Regions from separate parts of the Homo sapiens genome. Here regions 1, 2, 3, 4, 5 and 7 are each linked to region 6. Evidence: promoter capture Hi-C in human tissues and cell types (Jung and others, 2019). All regions are on one chromosome and are shown on one strand. Each heading gives the region's core, a stretch centred on a gene start or on the middle of the fragment in contact. The rest is flanking DNA. Distances are from core to core; before and after follow the strand shown.

Region 1 (3,546 bases), core at 845-3,344, 340 kb before region 6:
GGCCACAGGATTTATGAGGCTGACAGTGTGGACAGTCCCACATCTGAGTCACACCTAGATTATTGAAGCCTTTTACTGGTTTATCTGCCTCTGGCCTTCCACCCCTTCCAATGCTCCCTCCACATGGCTGCAGAGTGATCTAAGATGTAAACCCAGGCTATTTCCCTATTTAAATTGTTTAATGGATCCTTAATTGGTGTTTCTCAAACTTGGAGTTCCTGGATCCCTTGGGGACACATTCTCAGGTGTCTTGAGTAAACTTTAAGAAGTTTACTGGCTGGACACAATGGCTCACGCCTGTAATCCCAACACTTTGGGAGGCCGAGGTGGGAGGATCACTTGAGCCCAGGAGTTTGACACCAGCCTGGGCAACATAGTGAGGCCCTGTTTCTATTTTAAAAAGAAAAGAAAAGAAAAAAATAAGGAGCTTACTATTTGTTTTAATTTCAGGATTAATCTTTTGTTTTGTTTTTTTTTTTGAGACAGGGTCTTGCCCTGTTGCCTAGGCAGGAATGCAGTAGCAGGATCATGGCTCACTGCAGCCTTGACCTCCCCTGCTCAAGTGATCCTCCTGCCTCAGTCTCCAGAGTAGCTGGGACTACAGGCACAGCCACACCTGGCTAATTTTTGTATTTTTTGTAGAGACGTGGTTTTGCCATGTTGCCTAGGCTGGTCTCGAACTTCTGAGCCCAAGTAATCTTCCCACCTTGGCCTCCCAAAGCGCTGGGATTACAGGCTGAGTCACCATGCCCGGCCAGGATTAATCTTAACAAAATAGTAATAACGACATAAGCATAGTCTGTAACACCGGATGACCTTATAACCAAGCACTTTCAGGAAATTTTAGTGCCTTTTTTTTTTTGCACTTGTATTATGTATTGATTGGGTTGGTGCCAAGTGATTTTCTGAAATGACAGCATTTAACTTTTAATGCTGCAACTATTTTCATCTCATTATTTACAGATATATCTGCAGCACCTAGAACAACAGTGCACATCGTAAGTGTTCAATAAAGACATGTTGAATAAATGAATGAATGAAGTTTCTCAAGCTAGGTTCTGACATCCTTGGGGCTCTTCCACAGTTTGAAATCGCCTCAGTATGGCACGTGAGGCTCTTCACAATTAAGCTGGGAATACTCAACCAGTAATTTTCCCAGACAGTCTGGGCAGGATGCGGGGGCGTAGTCCTCTTTAGAAAATAAAAAAAGTGAAAGTATAAAGCATTTATGTACATTTTGACAGGGCAGACGTGATATGCAAATGGATTGCAAATATAATGCAAATGACATGCAACTCCTCATGCAAATGAGCATCCTGTCTTTGGAATCGACTGCCGGGTATTCACTGATTTGTCTGCAGTACTGGCAGTAAATCTTTCAAGGGTTTGGGATGCAAGTTGCTTTGATGGTGATGTGTGTGTACTAGGGAGGAGGGGTAGTGGGATGGGGTCTCTCAAGGAGGAGTCGGTGTGGTGCTAACGCTTGCAGCTTAGTATGAAGCTTAATACAGTATACAGTTTAATATGAGGTTATTCTCCTGTGATGCTCTAAGGACTGACATTTCGGAATTGGTGGCGGGTGGTGGCAATGAAATGCAACTTCTTATATTCTTCAACTCTTTGGTTGCCTCACATCTTCTGTCCCATCCATCTCACATCATTGGGGTTCTGGTCCACAGGAGTAGAGAGTAGGGAGTCAGAGATCCCTAGCCCCAGGCCCTCATCATGAGGACTACAGAAGAGCTCTTGTAAATCATTTCTGGAGGAGGTTATGAGCATGGTGTGGAGTTCTGCACTTCCTAATCACATGACAAGCAGAATTTAGCTGAATTTCTAGGCCTGTTAGAAAAAGATGAGTGGTGACAAAAAGCATGGAGACTTTCTGAGAAATATAGCTGCTTAATCTCAATGCCAATAATGTGATATCTGACAAAATTGGGAAGCTTACTTGGAAATCTAAAGGGAAAAAATGTCAACTATGATTTTTTTCTTGATAAAAACCTGTTCTTCCTTGTCCTTGGTGTGAAAGGAAATTTGTGGTTACACAGACTCTTCCCCAATGATTATAAAAATATTGGGCAAATGATGCAAAAGACGCTTTAGCAGGTATATTTTAGCCTAACTCAAGATCTGTTTTTCTCTGACACTTTGCATCAGACCTGGGTTCAAACACTCAATTTTCAGCTATATAAACTTGGACAACTTATTCAACTTTTCTGAGCTCAGTTTCTGCATCTGTAGGGGAGTAATAGAATAATAGAATCCTTATGAGGCTGTCGTAAAGGTCACATGAGATAATGCATGTACTTAACACAGTGCCGGGCTCATAGTGAGCATTCAATTAATATGGCAATTTGCAATGACCATCTGTAGATTTGCTGCCTAGATTCCATTCATCCTCCATCTGATAACTGTACCCCATTTCTTCCTGGTGAACCATCATTTTCTTTTCATTCCATGTGGTCCTAATGAAACTGACTCCATCCTCAGCATCAGGAGTAGAACATGTGGCGTAAGCTGGGTGCAGTAGCTCACACCTGTAATTCTAGCACTTTGGGAAGCTGGGCCAGGTGGATCACTTGAGGCCAGAAGTTTGAGACTAGCCTGGCCAACATGGCAAAACCCTGTCTCTACTAAATATACAAAAATTAGCTGGGTGTGGTGGTACATGCCTGTAATCCTAGCTACTCAGGTGGCTGAGGCATGAGAATCACTTGAACCTGGGAGGAAGAGGTTGCAGTGAGCCAAGATTGTGCCACTGCACTCCAGCCTGAGCAACAAAGTGAGACCCTGTCTTTAAAAAACAAACAAACAAGGCCGGGCGCGGTGGCTCACGCCTGTAATTCCAGCACGTTGGGAGGCCGAGGCGGGTGGATCACGAGGTCAGGAGATGGAGACCATTCTGGCTAACACGATGAAACCCCGTCTCTACTAAAAATACAAAAAATTAGCCGGGCGCGGTGGCGGGCGCCTGTAGTCCCAGCTACTCGGGAGGCTGAAGCAGGAGAATGGCGTGAACCCGGGAGGCGGAGCTTGCAGTGAGCAGAGATCGCGCCACTGCACTCCAGCCTGGGCGACAGAGCGAGACTCCGGCTCAAAAAAACAAACAAACAAACAAACAAAAAAGAACCTGTGACTTAGGTTTAAATCATTCATACCATTCTATTCTTAGGCCACAGTGATTGGTTCAAGAATGGGGACATACACAGAGTTACCGTACAATCCAGCAATTCCACTTCTAGGTAACCTTGTATGATCAACACTCAGTGTATGCAAAGGATTAGTTCCAGACGCCCAAGTACACCAAAATCCATGCAAACTCAAGTCCTGCAGTTGGCTCTGCAGAGCCTGAGTATACAAAAAGTCAGCCCTCCATATACTCAGGTTTCACATCCTGCGAATACTGTATTTTCAATTTGCATTTGGTAAAAAAAATCTGCATATAAGTGGATCCTTGCAATTCAAACTTGTGTTGTTCAAGGGTCAAGTGTATATGAATGCTCATAGCAGCATTATTCATAATAGTCAAAAAGTGGAAGCAACCCA
Region 2 (3,455 bases), core at 105-2,604, 270 kb before region 6:
TCCCGGGTTCAAGTGATTCTTGTGCTTCAGCCTCCCGAGTAGCTGGGACTAAAGGTGCCCGCCACCACGCCCGGCTAATTTTTGTATTTTTAGTAGAGACGGGGTTTTGCCATGTTGGCCAGGCTGGTTTCGAACTCCTGACATCAGGTGATCTGCCTGCCTCAGCCTCCCAAAGTGCTGGGATTACAGGTGTGAGCCACCGCACCCTGCCAGTTTTAGCCTTTTAAATTTCGTCCTTTAAAAATCCCTTTTTACTCAATAACACTTTTGTAAAAATCAGTTGACTATAGAGATGTGAGGGTTTAATTCTGGTCTCACAATTCTATTCCATTGGTCTATATGTTTATCCTTACATCATTACCACACTTTTGATTACTCTAGCCTTATGGTAAGTTTTGAAATTGGACTTGTGGAATTCTCCAGCTTTGTTCTTTTTTTCCCCTCAACTTTGCTGTTTTTTGTTTTTGTTTTTTTAAGAGATGGGATCTTGCTCTGTCACTCAGACTAAAGTGCAATGGCACTGTCATAGCCCACTGCAGCCTTGAGTTCCTAGCCTCAAGCAATCCTCCTGCCTCAGCCTCCCAAGTAGCTGGGATTACAGGCATGAATCACTGTGCCCAGCAGTTTTGTTCTCCTGCTTCAAGATTGTTTTGGATATTCAGGGTCCCTTGAAACTCCATGTGAATTTTAGGATGGGTTTTTCCATTTCTGCAAAAAATCCACTGGAATTTTGAAAGGGATTGCGTTGCATCTGCGTATTGCTTTGGGTAATACTATCATTTTAGCAATATCATATCTTTGAATCATGAACCTAAAATGACTTTTTATTTATTTATGTGTTGTACAGAAAAATTGAAATGGAGATCTTCTTTTATTTCTTCAGCAGCGTTTTGTAGTTTTCAGTGTAAAGTCTTTTGCTTCATTGGCAAAATTTATTCCTAAGTGTTCTTTTTGATACTGTTTTAAATGGAATTGCTTTCTTAGTTTCCTTTTTGGATCGTTCATCTCTGGGATATAGAAATACAACTGATTTTTGTGTGTTGGTTTTATGTCCTGCAACTTTACTGAATTTATTAGCTCTAACAGGTTTTATTTGTGAAGGTTTTCTATGCATAAGATCATATCATTGGCTGGGCGTGGTGGCTTATGCCCGTAATCCCAGAGCTTTGGGAGGCTAAGGTGGGCGGATTGCCTGAGGTCAGGAGTTCGAGACCAGCCTGGCCAACAAGGTGAAACCCCATCTCTACTAAAAATACAAAAACTTAGCCATGTGTGGTGGTACATGCCTGTAATCCCAGCTACTTGGGAGGCTGAGGCATGAGAATCGCTTGAACCCAGGAGGCAGAGGTTGCAGTGAGCCTAGATTACGCCCCGCTACTCTAACCTGGGCAACAAGAGCGAAACTCCATCTTAACAAAACAAAACAAAAAACCATATATATATATATATATATATGTGTGTGTGTGTGTGTGTGTGTGTGTGTGTGTGTGTGTATATATGTATATACACATGTGTATATACATATGTGTGTATATATGTGTTTATATATGTATATATACATATATGTATATACATTTATATGTGTATATACACATATATATGTATATATCATCTGCACATAGAATAGTTTTACATCTTCCTTTCCAATATGGATGCCTTTTATTCTTTTCTTGCCTAATTGCTCTGGCTAGAACTTATAGTATTATGTTGAATAGAAGTGGTGAAAGTGGGTGGCCGGGCGCGGTGGCTCACGCTTGTAATCCCAGCACTTTGGAAGGCCAAGGTGGGCGGATCACGAGGTCAGGAGATTGAGACCATCCTGGCTAACACAGTGAAACCCTGTCTACTAAAAATACAAAAAAAATTAGCCAGGCGTGGTGGCGGGCACCTGTAGTCCCAGCTACTCAGGAGGCTGATGCAGGAGAATGGCGTGAACCCGGAAGGCAGAGCTTGCAGTGAACCGAGATCGCGCCACTGCACTCCAGCCTGGGCAACAGAGCGAGACTCTATCTCAAAAAAAAATAAATAAATAAGTAAAAGAGGTGGTGAAAGTGGGTATCTTTGTCGTGTTCTTGGTCTTTGGGGAAAAGCTTTCAGTCTTTCACCATTAAATATGATGCTAGCTGTGGGTTTTTCATATATGCCTTTTATTATGTTGAGGATGTTCTTTTCTATTCCGGGTTTATTGGGTATTTTTTATTATGAAAGGATATTGGATTTTGTCAGTTGCTTTTTCAGTATCCATTGAAATGATCATGTGGTTTTTTTCCTTCATTCTATTAATGTGGTGTATTACATTGATTGCATTTCATATGTTGAGCCACTCTTGTATTCCTGGGATAAAACACCACTTGATCATGTTGTATAATTCTCTTAATATGCTGCTGAATTTTGGCTTGCTAGTATTTTGTTCAGGATTTTTTGCATGTATATTATAAGAGATATTGGTCTGGAGTCTTCTTATAGTGTCTTTGTCTTGCTTTGGTTTCAGGGTAATGCTGACTTCATAGAATGAATTAGGAAGTGTTTCCCTTCTCTTTGGTTTTTGTGAAGAGTTTGAGAAGGATTAGTGTACTGCTACCCTTCTTAACAGGCACCTTGCTGGCCAGTAAGTGCCTGTTAAACTCCTACCTTTTTGGAGCTTTGGCTTTGAAGTTGGGCCAGGTGAACTTTTCCATACTTTTTTGTTTTGACACTTCCATCTTGGCCGCCTGTCTGGGCAGCCAGCCATTCTGATTATGCAGCCTGGAAACTGCCCTTACAGGGTCAAGTTGCTAAGTTGGACTTTAAGACTGCGGCTTTTTCCATGTGTTCTCTGTTTCCTTTGGCTGATGAGTGTATGGTCTGATCTTGGGTTTGCTGAACAAGAACAAGGCCTCTGAGCCATTCAGGAGATCAGAACAAGTCAGCTGATAAGGGAGTAGGTTCTGTGCTGAAAATAATGTATTTTAAAGTGTTTTCTCAGATATTTAACATTTCAGGGTGAAAGATTCCATTGAGCACAGTTTTCCATAATTCTAAGTTCACATGTGATCATAGAGGTGGCCACACACACTTCTTTCCAAAGTAGTAATTTACATATGTATGCCATTAGGTTCTGCTGCTTTCACTTCCACTCAACAATTTTTTATGCATCTGCTTTTAAAGATAGGGGTCTCGCTATTGCCCAACCTGGAGTGCAGTGGTGTGATCATAGCTCACTGCAGCCCTGAACTCCTGGGCTCAAGCCATCCTCCCACCTCAGCCTCCTGAGTAGTTGAGACCATAGTTGCATCACCATGCCCTGCTAATGAAAAAAAAATTTTTTTTTTTTTTTTGTAGAGACAGAGTCTTACTTTGCTGCCCAGGCTGATCTTGAACTCCTAGCTTCAAGTCATCCTCCTACCTAGGCCTCCCAAAGTGCTGGGATTACAGGTGTGAACCATTGTGCCTGGCCAGCACCTGTTTTTATGTAT
Region 3 (3,503 bases), core at 298-2,797, 430 kb before region 6:
ATTAAAAAAGGAAGAATGAACTAATCTAAAATATGAAACATACTGAAACAAACACCAGGGCTCTACATTAACTCTTTCCCTGTAGCCACAGATAAGGAAAAAAAGAGAATTGTTCAAGAATACATCTTTACTACATACAAATCAGCAATCAAGACAGATGGAGAGCTGAAATCTAGCATCCTGAATGGCAGAGCACATTGACTGCAAAAAAAATACTTAAAACAATTCAACAAAGCAGACAAAAAAAACCTGCTTAAATATATGATTAAGAAGAACATATTGATGCCAAAAACCAACAAGATAATCTCAGTGGATGATAGCTTTGTGGCCAGAAGTAATCTAGGCAGAATATATTAATGTAAAGCCCTGGTTTAAAATGCTCAAAAACAATTACCTTCCAAATAAAGTAAGTGTTCTCAAAAGTTTAAAAATGCTTGATCAACTCAATGTCATCAGACTACAGAATTAGAGTCAAAGATATAGGTAAATAGGCACTACAATGTAAAAGAAATTAGAAGCATCTGTTGAGTTAACTCACCTTATTAGAATGAACTGGCAAATCACATATAGAGCACAGATGGGGATAACCCTTCGGTAAGAGTCCATGGAAGTCTTCAATATTGCTACTTGGAGGAGCGCCTCTCTTTTTCTCAAAGAGAGATCTCTCTTGTAAGGGGCCAGGACCACGTCCCATTCTCTCATACTCACTGTCAAATTTATGATAGTTATGCGAGGTCTCACCAAAAAAAGAATCATCCCTACACCTTTCTCCATCTCTTAATCTGTCATCTTCATAATCCATTCTGTCATAATAACCAGATTCTTGAGAACGACTTCCATGGTCATAATCAAGCACTGGGTTGAGACTAGGACCACGATCATCAAAACTATCTCTTCTAAAGTGCCTTTTTTCTTCCCAATCATCCCTAGGTACTCTGTATGGTGGCTCCCGTGTAGCAGATCTGCCATCTCTACCATAACTCAAGGTAGGGCCTTCTTCAGTTCTCCTCCTTTTAAGCTGTAGAAGGATTTGGGGCAAATTCTCAGGAGTAATCTTGTCCTCTGGATAACGACTCAGTTCATCTAAGTCTCTAGCAGACAGACCAAAGCTGGCCAAAATGTTACTGGCCTGGTCTGCATCTCCACGGTGTTGAGAAGATAAAGGGAGTGGACCTCTACTTCCAATGTTAAATATAGACTGCAAATTATGGGAAGAAGTACTAGCAGAAGACAGTGCACTATGAGCTCCTTGTTGATTCAATGAAGAACTCATTCCAAGATTCATTAAACTAGCAAGGCGTGCAGTACCCTGGTTCATCCTTCCAAGAGATGCTGGCATACTTAAAGACTGGGTAGCAGCAGCAAGAAGGCCTATTCCTGCCGCAGACAGGTCACGCCCATGACCCTGTGAGTCCCTACTGAGAGATGACTGCTGGAATGACTTGGACATTGTAGAACTAGCTCTTGTCTATTTTATAGATTAAAAAAAAAAATTTTTTTAAAGACGGCCAAAAAGAAAGCTCAAACTAGAAAGCTAGGTTAACTTTGCTTCAAAAATGGTAACGCCAAGAAAAAGGATCAATAAGGACTGCAGAATCTTCTTCAAGCTGAGAACCAGCAGACAACTCTGTAGAAAAATAAGCAATTTTAGTCATAAATCCCTTTAAGCAGATGCCGTTTTTTTAAGAAAAAAAAACTTATGCATCATGTTGATTTAAAAAAAAAACATTTAAGATCTCAAACTTACAAGGAATTTATTACATATCTTAAACAGATTCCTGATGTATGCAGAGCCTGCATATAGATATTTAAAAAGTAGTATTTCATGCTAAAGCTTAACTATTAAAGGGACTTTCATACTGAGTTTAAAAACATGTAAATTGAAAGGTTAGATGTCTGAGTACATCAAAATTTCAGTAAAAATATAGATGGGTTTCTTCTTTTAGAAGAATAAAAATACACCCTATAGTATGATGCTTAAGTTCCAGAAGACTAAAAACAAAAAAATCAAGGTCAGCAAGTCAAAGATGAATCAGTTGTACTGTGCTTTGGAAAATGAGACCTATTATCACTATCAGAAAGAACCAAGTAAAATCACAAGTAAATGAAGCTTAGGTTTCAAGTACCTAATGTAAGATATAAGACCAAACATAATAGCTGAGACCTTTATACAGCAAAATCAATTTGAGGTGAAGATAGATGTGAATAAGAAAAATAAGTCATTTCCTATAGTTTTAAGGATTGCTGCCCAAATTTAAGTTATACAACTAATTGCCTTCTTACTGACCATCCTACATCAGGCAGTGTTTACTTCATATCTAGTCTTTTAAAGTAAGGAGAACTAACTCTGGTCAGTACAGGAATAGGAGCCCTCCCAAGAAAAAACCTAGGTACAGGAAATACAGGTGATTTAAAGAAGGGAACTCCCCAAATCAGCATCCATCAGTACTCATTTAATGCTCAGGGCTACAGCACATCTAGAGCACAAAACAGGTAAAAATGAAAATGAGATCTTGGTTACACAGTTTCCTGTAAACTTTTCACAAGAATAGCCCAAATCACCTGGTAAATTTATGTTCTGATTATGATCCCCCAAGACGTGTTTCTAGATGAAATTGTTTTCTTTCTTAAATCATTATTGTTGTACCTCAGAAACTGTCACATAAGAATTTCCAAATCTTTTATATCACGATTGTCATAAAATATTAGTTGAAAGATATACATAACATCTTCAGTGAAACAATTTTATAATCACAACTACATACAGAGGTAAATCTGAAGTTGTTTGGTACAGAATTCTATGAGGCATTGCTTAAATTTTCTATTTTTTGATCACCAATACACTCAGCACTGGTAGCTTAATATGTGAAACTTTAACAGTAAAACCAGACAATATCCAGTAGTTACAAGTCTATTACAGGATCAATTTCACCAATGATAGATTAAAGCAAGGATACAATGGACAAATACAGTGGCAAAGGAAGTATAAAAAAAGTTGCAGGCAAGAAAGATTTAGACTGGATTTTAAAAAATAGATATAATCAAGTTTTAAAAGACACAGAAATGCTATAAGAGGTGGCTGGAGTTACAGGAAGATGTTTTTGCACACCAAGAAAGATGAATTTGAGAAAATACACCAAAGAAACTATTAATAGTTCTAGACAAGATCCACTATGTAAACTACTTAAGCTTTAAGATTAATAAAGACGAGAATAAGTGGACTTCTTCAGATGAAAGTTTCTTTGATATGTCTTATAAATGCCAGACAGAATGGCGGCTGAGATGCTATGTAAATGGTGGTGGACCCTCTAAATTTTCACACATATTTTTACAAATCAAATCCTTTAGAGGGTTTTTCAAAATAAAAATGTTGAAGTATCAGGGTTATTAATTGCAGCTTTGACCTTCATGTTGTAGCCAAAGCTTTGCATTACTGAAAAGTCAGTCTTTTGAATTATTTTTTCCCTAAGAGAAATTATATAATGGTATTACAATTATGTTTA
Region 4 (3,715 bases), core at 248-2,747, 400 kb before region 6:
TGCACTAGAGCTGCAAAAATAGTTGCAAAAACCACATGGCTGAACAAGCATAATATTATATTACCTGGCTCTTTACAGCAAGTTTGCTGATCCCTGCTCTAGAACAGCAGTGCATAATAAACTTTCTGAATTGGTGGAAATGTTCTCTAATATTGGAGTTGTCCAATAGGGTAGTCAGCAGCCAGATTCTGAGATTAAGAAATTGATTAATTTTTATCAACTTACACAGCCACATGTAGCATATACCTACTGCACAGCAGAGCTCCAGAAAAGTGAGGGATGGACTTTAGATCCTAAGAATTCTCTAAAATTCTGATACTTGGCTGGGCGCGGTGGCTCATGCCTGTACTCCCATCACTTTAGGAGGCCAAGGCAGGTGGATCACGAGGTCAGGAGTTCGAGACCAGCCTGACCAACATGGTGAAACCCCATCTCTACTAAAAATACAAAAATTAGCTGGGCGTGGTAGTGCACGCCTATAATCCCAGCTACTCAGGAGGCCGAGGCAGGAGAATCGCTTGAACCCAGGAGGTAGAGGTTGTAGTGAGCCGAGATTGCGCCATTGCACTCCAGCCTGGGAGACAGTGAGACTCCGTCTCAAAAAACAAACAAAAAAACCTGTAATCCCAGCATTTTGGGAGGCCAAGGCAGGCAAATCGCAAGGTCAGGAGTTTCAGACCAGCCTGGCCAATATGGTGAAACCTCGTCTCTACTTAAAATAAAAAAATTAGCCTGGCATGGTGGCAGGTGCCTGTAGTCCCAGCTACTCGGGAGGCTGAGGCAGGAGAATCGCTTGAACCCAGGAGGCAGAGGTTGCAGTGAGCCGAGATCGAGCCACTGTACTCTAGCCTGGGCAACTGAGCAAGACTCCGTCCCCCCCCAAAAAAAAGTCTGATACTCTACATAATTTTTCACATCATAATTTTAAGTCCCCTACCCCCATCTGAGCTATAGTAATTTAATTGGGACCTACATGACAAGAAGACTACATACGTTACTTATCTTGGTGTCACACAGGGCTGTCAGACATCTGGGGTCCTGATGGAGGTAGATGTCATTCAGGTGAAGGCATCTAGGATTCAAAGAGGTAAAGAATGACAGGCTGTCCCTAAGACAACCTGTCTTTTTCTGCAAACAGAAAAAAATTGTTTGCACCCAGACTAGGATCAACTCCACAGGAGTCATTCCACTCTCAGAGGTGCAAAACACTGCCCAAAGGTACTCAGCTACAACACCAAAACAGTGCTTGGAGCCAAACCTCAATAAAGACAGTGTTTGCTCTTCCAACAGTGTAACACCATCACAGGCACCACATGAGCCTGGATAGCTGACAACCGCTGGATGATTCCTGAAACAGCTTTCTCATTATTTGTTTCAGATACCTAGGCACTCCAGGTAGAAGACGTATCAGTTGAATATTGACTGCAAAACAGGCGTGGAAGCACTAATTGCAGACCCTGTTGTCAAACCCTTTAACAGGAATCCCCTTCTGTGTTTTCAGTTGTTTTATGCAACATTCAGGGAGGTCCTGCCATGTGCCAAGCACTGCGATTGGGATCTAGCAGTGAATAAAACAAGATATATTGTCCTTTCCTTCATGGATCTTACAAATACAGGTTAATTTACCTCCCATTTGTTTCCTGATAGATACCAACTAGCCCACAGGCCTGGCACAGAGGAGGTAGTCAATGTTGGAATGAATAGGGATATTTACCTGAAAACTGCACATGCAGACTGTCACCTGCCACTATTTCCTCCCTTCAGATGGGTGAAGGATGCCCTACTTTCAAGTCATCCTAAAAAGGAAGACAAGCAAACTTAGTGATCTAGTACACAGAATATAATAAATAGCAATGCATTGTGTGTGTGTGTGTATATATATATATATATTTTTTGAGATAGGGTCTCACTCTGTCTAGACTGAGTGCAGTGGCATGACCATGGTTCACTGTAGTCTCAATCTCCTGGGTCAAGTGATCCTCCCAGCTTAGCCTCCCAAGCAGCTGGGACTACAGGTGCATGCCAACACACCCACCTAATTTCTTTTTTGTTTTTTATAGAGATGAGATCTCTTTCTGTTGCCCAGGCTTGTCTCAAACTCCTGGGTTCAAATGATCCTCCCACCTCAGCCTCCCAAAGTGCTGGGAATACAGGTGCGAGCCACCGTGCCTGGCCTGTATATTTCAAAATTGCTAAAAGATACTAAATGTTTTCACCACAACAAAATATAAGTATGTGAGGTGCTAGATGTGTTAACTAGCATGATTTACTCATTCCACAATGTAAACATGTATGAAAACCTCATGTTGTACCCCATATAACATATACAATTACTGTCAATTAAAAAAAAAAAAAAAAAAAGACGAGCAGACATGATATATTTCCCATGAATTTGAATGTTTGGCACCCTGGTCTAAAATAGCAGCTCCTAAGGACCCTTATCTGGAGAGATGGAAATAGAATGCTGCTTGCCATTTACCCCAATTTCTATAGCCTCAGGAATTATTTTATTTACCATTATTTGCCTTTTCCCTGCCTATAGTACTATAAAGCTAACCATCCCCCAAGCCCTACAGATATCACTAGCCTTAAGACCCCATATGTAAAAGGCTATTCACAGTTGAGGCATTCACACAAAGCACTCACATTTAGTTGAGAGAATCCTATTAAGGGAATGCCAACTGATCTAACAAAACAAGCTTTGATAAACAACTCCCCTGCCCCCCAACATCCTCCCCATTTCCTCCTGTGGAAACTAGTATGTCACTTTTCACAGCAACCGAGGGTCATCTCTTCTCAAAAGATTAGCATTCCAGGCCAGGCACGGTGCAGTGGCTCATGCCTGTAACCCCAGCACTTTGAGAGGCAGGAGATCACTTGAGCCCAGGAGTTCGAGACCAGCCTGGACAACGTCGTGAAACCTTGTCTCTACTAAAGCCTGGGCAACATAATGAGACTTTGTCTCTACAAATTAAAAAAAAAAAAATTATCTGGTTGTGGTGGCACACACCTATCATCCCAACTACTTGGGAAAAAGCATTCCAAAACAAAATTACTACAAAGGGAACTCAATATCTACCACTTTAATGGGGCAACAACTGTTCATTTCTGAAAATCAGTAAGCAACTAAAGCAAATATACTGTCAGCCCAAAGGAGAAATTAGTGTGGTTGTAGTTGTTCAGTTCCCAGAGCCCCCTCAATCAATATTTTAATATTTTATTAAACAGCTAGAGAATGCCCATAATTTTAAAGTGAATTACCATCAATGTTTCCCTAATAGGGAATCCATCCCTCTACAAAGGGTGTCATGACTAGCTTTTATGGTGGGTAGTAGGAGCCATGGACTTTAATTTCAGTGAAATTAGCAAAAATCCCATTGTATCTGGCCCCCTTTGAGCCCTTGGTAGGCACTAAAAATAAAGGTGTGACTTTTCCGTCTATTTTTACCAACCCCCTCTTCCCATTAGCTTTGTTCTGTTTCCAAGGTATGATTCAAGTAACTTCATGCTACCCAAACCTGTTGGACCAGAACTATTCAGGAAGGTCTGGACTTATTCTCTGCAAAAAGTCATGCTCTCACAGATTAAACCTTAATGCAAGCTTTTCCAACCCGCAGCCCAACACAAATTGGTAAACTTTCTTAACACATTATGAGGAGTTATTTTTGGCAATTTTTTTTTAAATTTAGCTATCAGTTATCGTTAGTGTTACTAT
Region 5 (3,394 bases), core at 460-2,959, 290 kb before region 6:
CTCCCTAAGTTCTTAGATAAGGTCATTAGACAGGAATTGACAATGGCCAGATAGAAACAAATTCACAGAATGTGAGTGGGTGGCAGGGTGAGACATGGAGAGGTCAGAGGGGATAGTGCTTCTCTTTCTGGTAGTGGCCTGGTTTTTCATGGCAAATATTGGCCAGTGTAACTGTTCTCCTTTCGTAGGGCCTGTATGTTTGGGAGCTGTAGAGACTGTAGGGGGACTGCTCAGTGCTGGTGTGCCCACCTGGTAAGGCCTAGGCAATCCTAATTTTTTTTTTTTTTTGAGACAGAGTCTCTCTCTGTTGCCCAGGCTGGAGTGCAGTGGCATGATCTTGGCTCACTGCAACGACCACTTCCCAGCCTCAGATGATCCTCCCACCTCAGCCTCCCAAGTAGTGGGGACTACGGGAGCGTGCTACCATGCCCAGCTAATTTTTGTGTTTTTAGTAGAGATGGGGTTTTGCCATGTTGCCCAGTCTGGTCTCAAACTCCTGGACTCAATCTGCCCACCTCAGCCTCCCAAAGTGGTGGGATTACAGGCATGAGCCACCGCACCTGGCCAGCAATTCTAATTCTTTGCTTTTCTAGGGAAGTGCTCCAAGCTCCTGGGAGTAAGGAAGATGTGGGACTCTGGTCACTTTTGAAAACGTTTGAGTCCTAAATGTTATTGGTGCTCAAAGACCTGGTTCTTAAGATAATAAAATCCCAGGGATGGATATGAGAAAGAGAGAGTGTCTAGAACAGGGTTAGCCGACAGATGTTCATTAGCTTTCCCAAAAACAATTCTTTGTGTGTTGAGAACTGTAGCCCTGCAGATACTGGTCTCTACTCATGTCTAGGGCTCCTTTTTCCCACCTGAAGCTGGCTTCTCCTTTTCCTTTTCTCAAAGCACATGGTTACCTTTAACCTGACTTAGATGTTGTCTACTCTTCACTATACGGCTCTCAAATGAAGGATATTGGACAGCCTGCTTGTTAGCTTTCTCCTTCATTTCCCTTATTTAAAGATTTGGCCTTGTGGCTGACTGAGGGTATTTGGTTATTCTTTTTTTTGAGTCAGAGTTTCACTCTTGTTGCCCAGGCTGGAGTGCAATGGCGCGATCTCAGTTCATCGCAACCTCTGCCTCCCAGGTTCAAGCGATTCTCCTGCCTCAGCCTCCTGAGTAGCTGGAATTACAGGCATGCGCCACCATGCCCAGCTAATTTTGTGTTTTTAGTAGAGACGAGGTTTCACCATGTTGGTCAGGCTGGTCTCAAACTCCTGACCTCAGGTGATCCACCCGCCTCAGCCTCCCAAATTGCTGGGATTACAGGCATGAGCCACCGCGCCCAGCCTGTTATTCTTGTTACTATTAACTTGCTTTAGTTACTGACTATCCCCTATCCTTCTGGAATAGTCTTTATGTTTAAACTTATGTAGAAGTCCCCTTTTAGTGAAACTCTTGCTACCCCCACCCTTTTTTATTTGTGATGGAGTCTTGCTCTGTTTCCCAGGCTGGAGTGCTGTGGCATGATCTTGGCTCACCGCAACCTCCACCTCCCAGGTTCAAGCAATTCTCCTGTCTCAGCCTCCTGAGTAGCTGGGACTACAGGTGTGTGCCACCACACCCAGCTAATTTTTGCATTTTGAGACGGGTTTTCACCATGTTAGGCTGGTCTCCAACTCCTAACCTCAGGTGGTCTGCCTGCCTCGGCCTCCCAAACTGCTGGGATTATAGGCATGAGCCACGACACCTGGCCTCGCTCCCTTTTTTATGCAAGAATTTCAGCTATACACCAGCAAGACAGGGATTTGAAGGTTCTAGTAGTTACCAGAAGGTAGTTTTTTGGTAGAACAGCTTTTTGGTAGAGTGGCTCTCTCAACCAACTTTGGGCTCAAAAATCATTATTAAGGCTCTGCTCACTTCTTTTACTGCCCCTTTTCAGTGCTAAATGATGATCCTCATTCCTTTAATCTTTTTTCACTTGCTCTGTTTCCTGGCCCCTGTGTTGTTTCTGCAGTTCTTCAAAGGAGTGTTTTCTTTCGGAAGTTTTCACAGCTGTCTTCTGGCTAGGGTTGTAGGTAATATGTTAGGCTCCATCTCTTCTACTCCTCCAGGCTATAACTTTTGTGTGTGTGTGTGTGTGTGTGTGTGTGTGTGTGTGTGTGTGTGATTGTGGAAATGTGATTGGGATGGGTAAAATGCACAGTTAGGCTCTCCCACCCCACTGTGACTGTCATTTGTGAATCTGTGTCATGTAATGGTACCTCAGCCAGGGTCCCCAAACTTGAGATGCTCTTGACCTTCAGGGATGGTAATGGCCTGCACTTCTGTGATGCCTAATGAGGCTGCCTTTAAAAGGAAATTTTTTTTTAGGTTGAGGGTTTTTGTTTTGTTTAGAAAGTAAACATACTTGCATCTCTTTTTATTTTGACTTGCATTGATTTCCTCTTCTTTCTTAAATCCTGAGTAAGAACTTCAAAATCAGTTGCCAACCTTTGTGTTCACAAGAATTGAGTGGATCAGCCTCTGTATTCTTCACCTGTGCACCTGATGGACTAATATACTGCTGTGGGGGAAACAGCTTCCAAAGGTCTCTCTTCTCTTACACATGCACACACACACAAGCACAACTGTGTTATAAAGAATAGGCACTTCTCTAAGAGGAACTTGTCCTGCTTCATGCAAATACCCTCCATTGCAGCAAAATTCTGGAAACTTTGAAAGAGGTACAATTAGTGATTTTTTTTTTCCCCAAGAAGCCTCAAAGCTCTTAAAATAAATCTTAAAAAATCTGGTACTCAGAGCTTCAGCTCAGAAAGCAGACAAATTGCAAACCTGGTGCAATAAGACTCTTCTCTCCTCTGATCTTTTTCCGTTTTCTCTCAATTTATTTTAACATCCCCTTTCATGGTCTTACGTTTCAGAAACTTGATTCAGTCCTTCCTTGCCAGCTCCTGGCAGGACAAGCAGCAGGGCTTCCGGCCCTAATTTATGGTTTATATTTCTTCTCCATCCCCTCTTTGCTGCCCCAGTTCTTTACCTCCTCACATCCTGCTGGCCTTTCTTCCATCAGAAAGGACAGTGTCATGTGTGACATGTTGCTTTGGAATTGGATGGCATCAGTGTTAGCCTAGTGATTTGGGTAGAATTTGGGAAACTGTTTTGCGCATGTGCTGCTAAATGAGGAGATGGGGCCTTTTTTTTTTTCCCTCTCTCTCTTTTAGTACCATCTTTCTTTCCCCTTGTCCCCTGTAGCCTCCATTAGCCCTGTTGCCAGGGGGAATGGGAAATTCTTTACCATGATTAGTTCTAGGGTATTATCCTATAAAGTTACAAAATAGCATTTCAGAGCAAGATGTCAGAGAGTCTCCCTGCAGTTCCCATGGAACCAGTTGACCTTTCAGTT
Region 6 (3,571 bases), core at 987-3,486:
GAGGCTGAGGCAGGAGAATGGCGTGAACCCGGGAAGCGGAGCTTGCAGTGAGCCGAGATTGCGCCACTGCAGTCCGCAGTCCGGCCTGGGCGACAGAGCGAGACTCCGTCTCAAAAAAAAAAAAAAAAAGAAATTTAAGAGACCACTCCTATGAGACTACTGTCCTTAGAACTTTTGGGGGCAAGTTCCTGTAGAACAGCAGCTCTGAAACCTAGGGTGAGAGACCCTGTAGGAATCGGACTCAACCTTATCCACAGAAAAATGAACAAGCAAAAAAATTTCACAAGACAGTTTATGGAACCAGGTTAAGAAGTTCTAGCCTATTGAGAGAGACTATAGGAAGGATTAAGGTCAGAGGGGGAGTAGCATTCCCCGGGTCTAAACCAGGACTTGTTTCCTTCCCTTCTTTAACCAGCAAGAAGGAACAAAGAGGACGTACTAGTGCAGGCTCATTACTAAGGACTCAAGAGTCTGTTCACTGGCAACTTTGGCTTGGGAATTTCCATTCAGCCTACAAAATGTGTCTAAGAACCACAATGCCAATCTCATCTTCTTTGCTTCCTCTGTCCCTTCACAGGTGTCAGACCTGCCCTGTGGTACGAAGACTCTCAGAGCATTCCTGCTGCCTTCTGTCTCCCTTTGTACTTCGTAGGCATTTTTGCCTCTTGTACTTCTAATTCTACCTTGGGATCACTTCTAGGAGGACTCAAACCACACACCTGCACTGCTGCAGTTTTCATAGCACCTTTACACAGAGCCCTAAGGAAGGGACCTTGGAGTCTCACAGCTCTCACTCCAGCACAACACTACAACAGAAAAATTTTACCCAAGACAATTACTTCTTAGATCTGCCCAGTGGGATGAATCCCTCAGAACCAAAAAGGCCAACGATGTTCTTGTTTCACAGACACCATCAGTAGTTTTAAAGATGTCTGTCCTTAGGTCTGAGACAAGACCCACAAAGGGTAAGTGCCAATGATATGGGAGAAATAGGTATGTTGGGTCAAATCAATAAGGCAAGATGTAGAAAAGGGCTTACCTTTGTCAGGCCTGAAAATATAACATCTAGAAACATCTTTTGCATTTATATAACACTAAACATGGAGCTATACATCCACAACTGAGGTCTGAAAAGTGAAGACACCATTCAACAGGGAGAAACTGGAGTTAGGGCAAGCAAAATCAAGTCAAAACAAAAATCCCAGTCCAAAGCATGAGTGACCTTTTGTATTCACAAGACAGGTTCTAACAACAGCAGTAGGCTCAGTTAAGTCAGCCACTTGGTGGCTGGGAACTAGGGTGCAAATGCTCTATTATTTCAGTGTCACAACCACCAACCTCAGTACCAGCGGAGGCTTTTAGTTATGGAGTAGGTGAGATTCTGAGGTAAAATACAAGGGGCCATGTCAGAATCCAGCTACACGGTATCACTTGTCCTAAATCATCTCTGCTTTGCTGTTAGGGCATGTGCATTAAAATGACTGTATCAACCTGCCTTGTCCTCCCAGGAGGACATTTAAAGATCAACTCAGCATTATTTTTTCAATCAGTATGGCGACAAAACATTGTTATAAAATAGGAGAAAGAGAAATCTTTTTAGAGTTCCCCTGAAATTCTCAAAGAAAAAAATAACCACATGCTTTGTTTTGCAAGCTTCCCCTCCCCCTTTATTCTTCGTTTATAATGTTAAGCTCTTGATGACAAACAAGCCAAGCCCACTTAGCTAGTTTATCAACACATCTAAAGCAAATCATAGTCATACTTTGATTTTAACCAAGCATGACAACAAGGCAACTGAATAGCTTTCCAAACTACCAGTGCAGCGACACTACCTTGCATAGGCTGGTGTTAAATCAGCACTTCATAAATTGTGCAGGCTTCTGCCCATTTAGATGATCTCTCTATGCAGAATCGGCAGTCTAACACTGGCTCTCACAAGCATTAAAAATCATCACTCTGCTAACCCAACTCACTGTTCAGATGGGTCTTCTTGAATGCAGCCTTTATTACAACCTCACTGCTGCTTCCTACACTGAAGGAATATCATGTTTTTAAGTCAGGAGTTCTTCTTTCTCGCTTTATTGTAATCAGGGGGTCCTGCAACGACCCCGATGCTGTTACAAAGCATGGTGCTTTATAACAGTAAAGCTTCTGGAAAACCCAAACAAAAGACACGTCATCCGGTGACGTCAGCCTATATACAGTTCTGTGTGGTCGCAGCACATAAGCAAATCCATTCTTGTGCCGTTTCTCGGAAAAGCTTTTCAGTAAATGCACTCATGCTGCTCCAGGAGCTCTTCTCTGCAACAAGCCACCCATCTGCCATCAACAAGTTAAGACCAAGAGAACTAACGGCTGCGGAAAGGAGACTGAAGCTTTGATTAACCAGCTGAGCAGTTAGAGGTGGAGAAATTTAATAACTTATATTCAAAACTGATTTAGGGATCAGAGCAATCACAGAAAATGAAACCAATGCTTTCCAGAGGGATATCCTAAGGAAAAAACAACTCGTCCTGGTGGATTCAATTTTACTTGGAAAGCCTGGGACACAGAAAACAGGAAACTGGTCAAAGGCTCCTACATGTTAGAGCCTTTTACAGACTCACTGCGTTGAGTCTAACAACCGCGACTGAATGCAGCCTCCAATGTGCTCAGAAGAATGGGTAAGTCTGTGCATTTATATGTCTTGTACATTCAACAAGGAATCACGCTTTTAAAATAAGCTACCGAATTCACATTTTATGAGGGAAATCACCATCATATTTTGGATTTTGAGGTTTAGGTAAAAGCATATATCGATGATGACAGAGACATGTTTTATCTTCTTTTTAAATGGCTTAAGTTTTGGTCCAGTCATACCAATAAGGTTAATTTTTCTGCAGTAAATGAAAAATAAGTTATATGCAGTGAAATCTTTTGCTATAATGTTGGTGGTGGTTGTTTTTTTTAAATAGCCCATATGTTCTGCTGAAAAATATCCTATCTTCTTGTTTTCCTTAAATTATATTCTGCAGGCTTACATTTCAAGTGGCCATTAGGGGCCCCTATGCTGGCAGCAATATATGCAATGAGTATGGTTTTAAAAATGCTGCCTGCCCTGGGTATGGCGTGTCCACCCAAATGCCGCTGCGAGAAGCTGCTCTTCTACTGCGACTCTCAGGGCTTCCACTCAGTGCCAAACGCCACAGACAAGGGCTCTCTGGGCCTGTCCCTGAGGCACAATCACATCACAGAGCTCGAAAGAGATCAATTTGCCAGCTTCAGTCAACTTACTTGGCTCCACTTAGATCACAATCAAATTTCAACAGTAAAAGAAGATGCTTTTCAAGGACTATATAAACTTAAGGAATTAATCTTAAGTTCCAACAAAATATTTTACTTGCCAAACACAACTTTTACCCAACTGATTAACCTGCAAAATTTGGACCTGTCTTTTAATCAGCTGTCATCTCTGCACCCAGAGCTCTTCTATGGCCTTCGGAAGCTGCAGACCTTGCATTTACGTTCCAACTCCCTGCGGACTATCCCAGTACGCCTGTTCTGGGACTGTCGTAGTCTGGAGTTTCTGGAT
Region 7 (3,462 bases), core at 237-2,736, 320 kb before region 6:
ATCAGTTTCTTTAATATATTAAACCATACTGTATTATTATTATTATTATTTTTCAGATGGGGTCTCACACTGTGGTTCAGGCCGGAGTGCAGTGGCATAATCATAGCTCACTGCAACCTTGAACTCCTGGGCTTAAGTAATACTCTCACTAAAGCCTCCTGAGTAGTTGGGACTACAGGGGCGCACCACCAGGCCCAGCTAATTTTGTAATTTTAATTTTTGTAGAGACAGGGTCTCGCTGTGTTGCCCAGGCTGTTTTTGAATTCCTGGCCTCAAGCGATTCTTCTGTCTTGGCCTCCTAAAATGTTGAGATTACAGGCGTGAGCCACTGCACACAGCCTATATATATTTAACCCCGAATGGCATGGGTAAGCAACCTTGTCACCTGCCTTGTCTTCAGATGAGTTAACAGTTCTTTTGAAGTGGAAATAACAGATTTTTGGAGGGTGGTGAACATGAGTTTTAATTCTGAGTCTACCACTTATTAGCCACATAACCTTGGATAAGTTACTTCACCTCTGGGGCTCAATGTACCACTACATAACAGTGGGAATAGGGCCGGGCATGGTGGCTCACGCCTGTAATCCCAGCACTTTGGGAGGCCAAGGTGGGCGGATCACGAGGTCAGGAGATCGAGACCATCCTGGCTAACACGGTGAAACCCCGTCTCTACTAAAAATACAAAAAATTACCCGGGCGAGGTGGTGGGTGCCTGTAGTCCCAGCTACTCAGGAGGCTGAGGCAGGAGAATGGCGTGAACCTGGGAAGCGGAGCTTGCAGTGAGCGGAGATCACGCCATTCACTCCAGCCTGGGCGACAGAGCGAGACTCCGTCTCAAAACAAAACAAAACAAAACAAAAAAAACTGGGAATAATATTTACTTTGAAGGGTGGTTAAATGACGTATTACACATGAAAGCTCTTGGGACATAGGAATGCAATAAATGTTTTCACCCTCAAAGAATGAAGATTTGCCGTTAATGAGAATATTCAAAAGAACATGAGAGTCTCTGGCCGGGTGCGGTGGCTCACACCTGTAATCCCAGCACTTTGGGAGGCTGAGGTGGGTGGATCACCTGAGGTCGGGAGTTCAAGACCAGCCTGACCAACATGGAGAAACCCCGTCTCTACTAAAAATGCAAAATTAGCCGGGCGTGGTGGCGCATGCCTGTAATCCCAGCTACTCGGGAGGCTGAGGCAGGAGAATCACTTGAACTCGGGAGGCGGAGGTTGCAATGAGCCGAGATCATTGTGCCATTGCACTCCAGCCTGGGTGATAGAGCGAGAGATTCTGTCTCAAAAAAAAAAAAAAAGGCTCTGAAAGGAAGTTGTACCTTTTTCGAAATAGGTGGATTCTCTTTTTCACATACTTGTGGATTCATACTCTGACCTGCTCAGCCTCCCCCTGTCTTTCTTCATTCATTTTCTGTCCTTTCCTAAGTGAAGTTTTGCTGCAGAGGCTGTCTGCCAGTCTCTTGTAGTAAGCCTCTTTTCAGGAGAGCTAATCTGAACTCTCTTACAATGCTAGTCCCTTAGTCGCTATTCCTAGGGATTTTTTTCTGGGGGCTCCAGATGGTGCTTGGATCACGCTCTGTAGCACAGCCATCTCTAACTCCTGGATTTGGTGTCAATTTGGAGACCCATCCTGTGGAGCTAATCTTCTCTCTTTCTGAGCAAGGATGAATACTTTATCCTTTTCTGAGTCGGCCTTAAACTGCAAACCTTAGTCTTCTACAGCAGAGAGTCTTGTATTTTAATTATACGTAGACTAAAGACGGAATAGCATGCCCTTTTCTTTTCTTCCTTTACTTTCACCAAGGATTTCACTGCTGAGTAGGGGAGTAGGAGAATAGCCTGTTGCCATTCAGAGTGAGGCCTTGGGTAACCCCTGATTCCTAGCATAAGCAATAACTGAGTTCATCTTTGGGACAAAAACCTTGTAAAAGATTCGGGCTGCTCAGACACATGTGGAGAACCTCAAGCTAGGAATTTTCCTAGCTTGTGAGGAGTTTACACCTGGCATTCTTACTTTTGCAAATTTGTACCCAGAATCCAGTAGCAACAAAACTATATTCAGCCCAGACTTGTAGTTCCTTCAGGTTCCACCAGGCAGCTGTAAGACATGGCTGTGATTATGCTGGCTGGCCATGTTTGCCTTCATCCTCCTAATACTGCCCTTGGCTTTGGTATTGAGAAGGAAGTGGCATAATCAATTCATGAGTAACATTCTCTGCCAAAGTGGAAATCAGGGGCAGAGAGTTGTGAGCATAGGACTAGACAAATGGAAAGAGCCAGCCTTGCCTCAGGAATGCTGCTAAAGTGCTGTGAATCCGTGACAACCACTGTGTTTCTTGGTGTCACCTCATTTGTGAAATGGGAATGCCTTCATTGATCTCTCTCTTGAGAAGAGTGGACCACCATGCCAGTTTTCCCAGGACAGAGGGATATCCGTATGTGGGACTTTTAGTGCCAAAAGCAGGAAAGTCCGGGGCAAACCAGGACAAGTTAGTTACCCTACCCATGACCATTATACAAGTTAATGAACACTGTGCCCTTAGGGTTCATCTAAGACTCAACCCTTTGGGTTCATCTAATTATTTTTCAACCTTTTGTTCATTATCATATTTTGAGACTTTTTTTCCCTTAATTGTCTACTCCCCAGTGGAATGTTTTTTTGAGAGGGAGTCTCACTCTGTCGCCCAGGCTGGAGTGCAGTGGTGTGATCTCTGCTCACTGTGGCCTCTGCCTCCTGGGTTCAAGTGATTCTTGTGCTTCAGCCTCCTGAGTAACTGGGATTATAGGCGCCCACCACCATGCCCAACTAATTTTTGTGTTATTTAGTAGTAGTTTTTGTGTTTTGCCATGTTGGCCAGGCTGGTCTTGAACTCCTGGCCTTAAGTGATCTGCCCACCTCAGTCTCCCAAAGTGCTGGGATTACAGGCATGAGCCATCGTGCCCAGCTACCCCCAATGGAATTTTAATACCACAGATGTACTGTGTATCTGTTTTTGTATTGTGGCCCTTTGGATGGCCACAAACCATTGTAATATCTAACTTTTTTTCCCCCAAGAATCAATTTTCACCCCTTCTGGGCTGTTACTGCACTCACTGAGAATGCATGGTCTTATCTGATATTCTTTCTTTAATGTAGTCATCAAGGCCAGTTTTTTATCCAGAAGAAACAGCTAGTACCACAAGCTTTTTCGTTTCCTTTCCTGTTTTTTTTTTTTTTTTTTTTTTTTTTTTGAGACTGAGTTTCGCTCTTGTTGCCCAGGCTGGAGTGCAATGGCGTGATCTTGGCTCACTGCAACCTCTGCCTCCTGGGTTCAAGTGATTCTCCTGCCTCAGCCTCCTGAGTAGCTGGTACTACAGGCATGTGCCACCACATCTGGCTAATTTTTTTTTTTTTTGGTAGAGACAGTCTCACTGTGTTGCTCAGGCTGGTCTTGAACTTCTGGGCTCA

Evidence for each region. Contacts are between HindIII fragments. The study calls those that stand out against the background at their distance.
Region 1: a contact is called between a fragment that was not itself captured here and the fragment with the promoter of LRRTM2 in region 6, in 2 of the 25 tissues and cell types used here (IMR-90 fibroblasts and hippocampus).
Region 2: a fragment that was not itself captured here is called in contact with the fragment with the promoter of LRRTM2 in region 6 in 1 of the 25 tissues and cell types used here (hippocampus).
Region 3: a contact is called between a fragment that was not itself captured here and the fragment with the promoter of LRRTM2 in region 6, in 1 of the 25 tissues and cell types used here (aorta).
Region 4: a fragment that was not itself captured here is called in contact with the fragment with the promoter of LRRTM2 in region 6 in 1 of the 25 tissues and cell types used here (dorsolateral prefrontal cortex).
Region 5: a contact is called between a fragment that was not itself captured here and the fragment with the promoter of LRRTM2 in region 6, in 2 of the 25 tissues and cell types used here (aorta and heart left ventricle).
Region 7: a fragment that was not itself captured here is called in contact with the fragment with the promoter of LRRTM2 in region 6 in 1 of the 25 tissues and cell types used here (hippocampus).

The regions. Positions count from the first base shown.
Region 1 is chr5:139,213,030-139,216,575 of GRCh38, reverse strand. No RefSeq gene overlaps it. Among named protein-coding and RNA genes, the nearest start is that of SIL1, 16 kb to the right of the region's middle. The HindIII fragment of the contact is 3,462 bases long and covers 364-3,546 here.
Region 2 is chr5:139,141,345-139,144,799 of GRCh38, reverse strand. All of the region lies in intron 1 of SIL1 (SIL1 nucleotide exchange factor), which reads left to right. Among named protein-coding and RNA genes, the nearest start is that of SIL1, 55 kb to the left of the region's middle. The HindIII fragment of the contact is 4,818 bases long and covers 1-3,455 here.
Region 3 is chr5:139,305,363-139,308,865 of GRCh38, reverse strand. It overlaps MATR3 (matrin 3), which reads right to left. Exons shown (of 15, transcript NM_018834.6): 2 at 539-1,627. The coding sequence starts at 1,450. Among named protein-coding and RNA genes, the nearest start is that of MATR3, 13 kb to the right of the region's middle. The HindIII fragment of the contact is 3,519 bases long and covers 1-3,306 here.
Region 4 is chr5:139,276,408-139,280,122 of GRCh38, reverse strand. SNHG4 (small nucleolar RNA host gene 4) reads right to left here. Exons shown (of 7, transcript NR_182757.1): 4 at 1,715-1,796; 5 at 994-1,072; 6 at 65-188. It overlaps SNORA74A (small nucleolar RNA, H/ACA box 74A), which reads right to left and starts at 1,343; the gene lies at 1,144-1,343. The region is part of intron 3 of LOC124901081 (a long non-coding RNA gene); the gene reads left to right. It also overlaps a transcript of MATR3 not described here. The HindIII fragment of the contact is 3,306 bases long and covers 1-3,150 here.
Region 5 is chr5:139,158,907-139,162,300 of GRCh38, reverse strand. The region is part of intron 1 of SIL1 (SIL1 nucleotide exchange factor); the gene reads left to right. Among named protein-coding and RNA genes, the nearest start is that of SIL1, 38 kb to the left of the region's middle. The HindIII fragment of the contact is 5,569 bases long and covers 1-3,394 here.
Region 6 is chr5:138,874,000-138,877,570 of GRCh38, reverse strand. It overlaps LRRTM2 (leucine rich repeat transmembrane neuronal 2), which reads left to right and starts at 2,236. Exons shown (of 2, transcript NM_015564.3): 1 at 2,236-2,663; 2 at 3,015-3,571. The coding sequence starts at 2,660. All of the region lies in intron 7 of CTNNA1 (catenin alpha 1), which reads right to left. The HindIII fragment of the contact is 3,441 bases long and covers 1,902-3,571 here.
Region 7 is chr5:139,192,781-139,196,242 of GRCh38, reverse strand. The region is part of intron 1 of SIL1 (SIL1 nucleotide exchange factor); the gene reads left to right. Among named protein-coding and RNA genes, the nearest start is that of SIL1, 3.9 kb to the left of the region's middle. The HindIII fragment of the contact is 8,977 bases long and covers 1-3,462 here.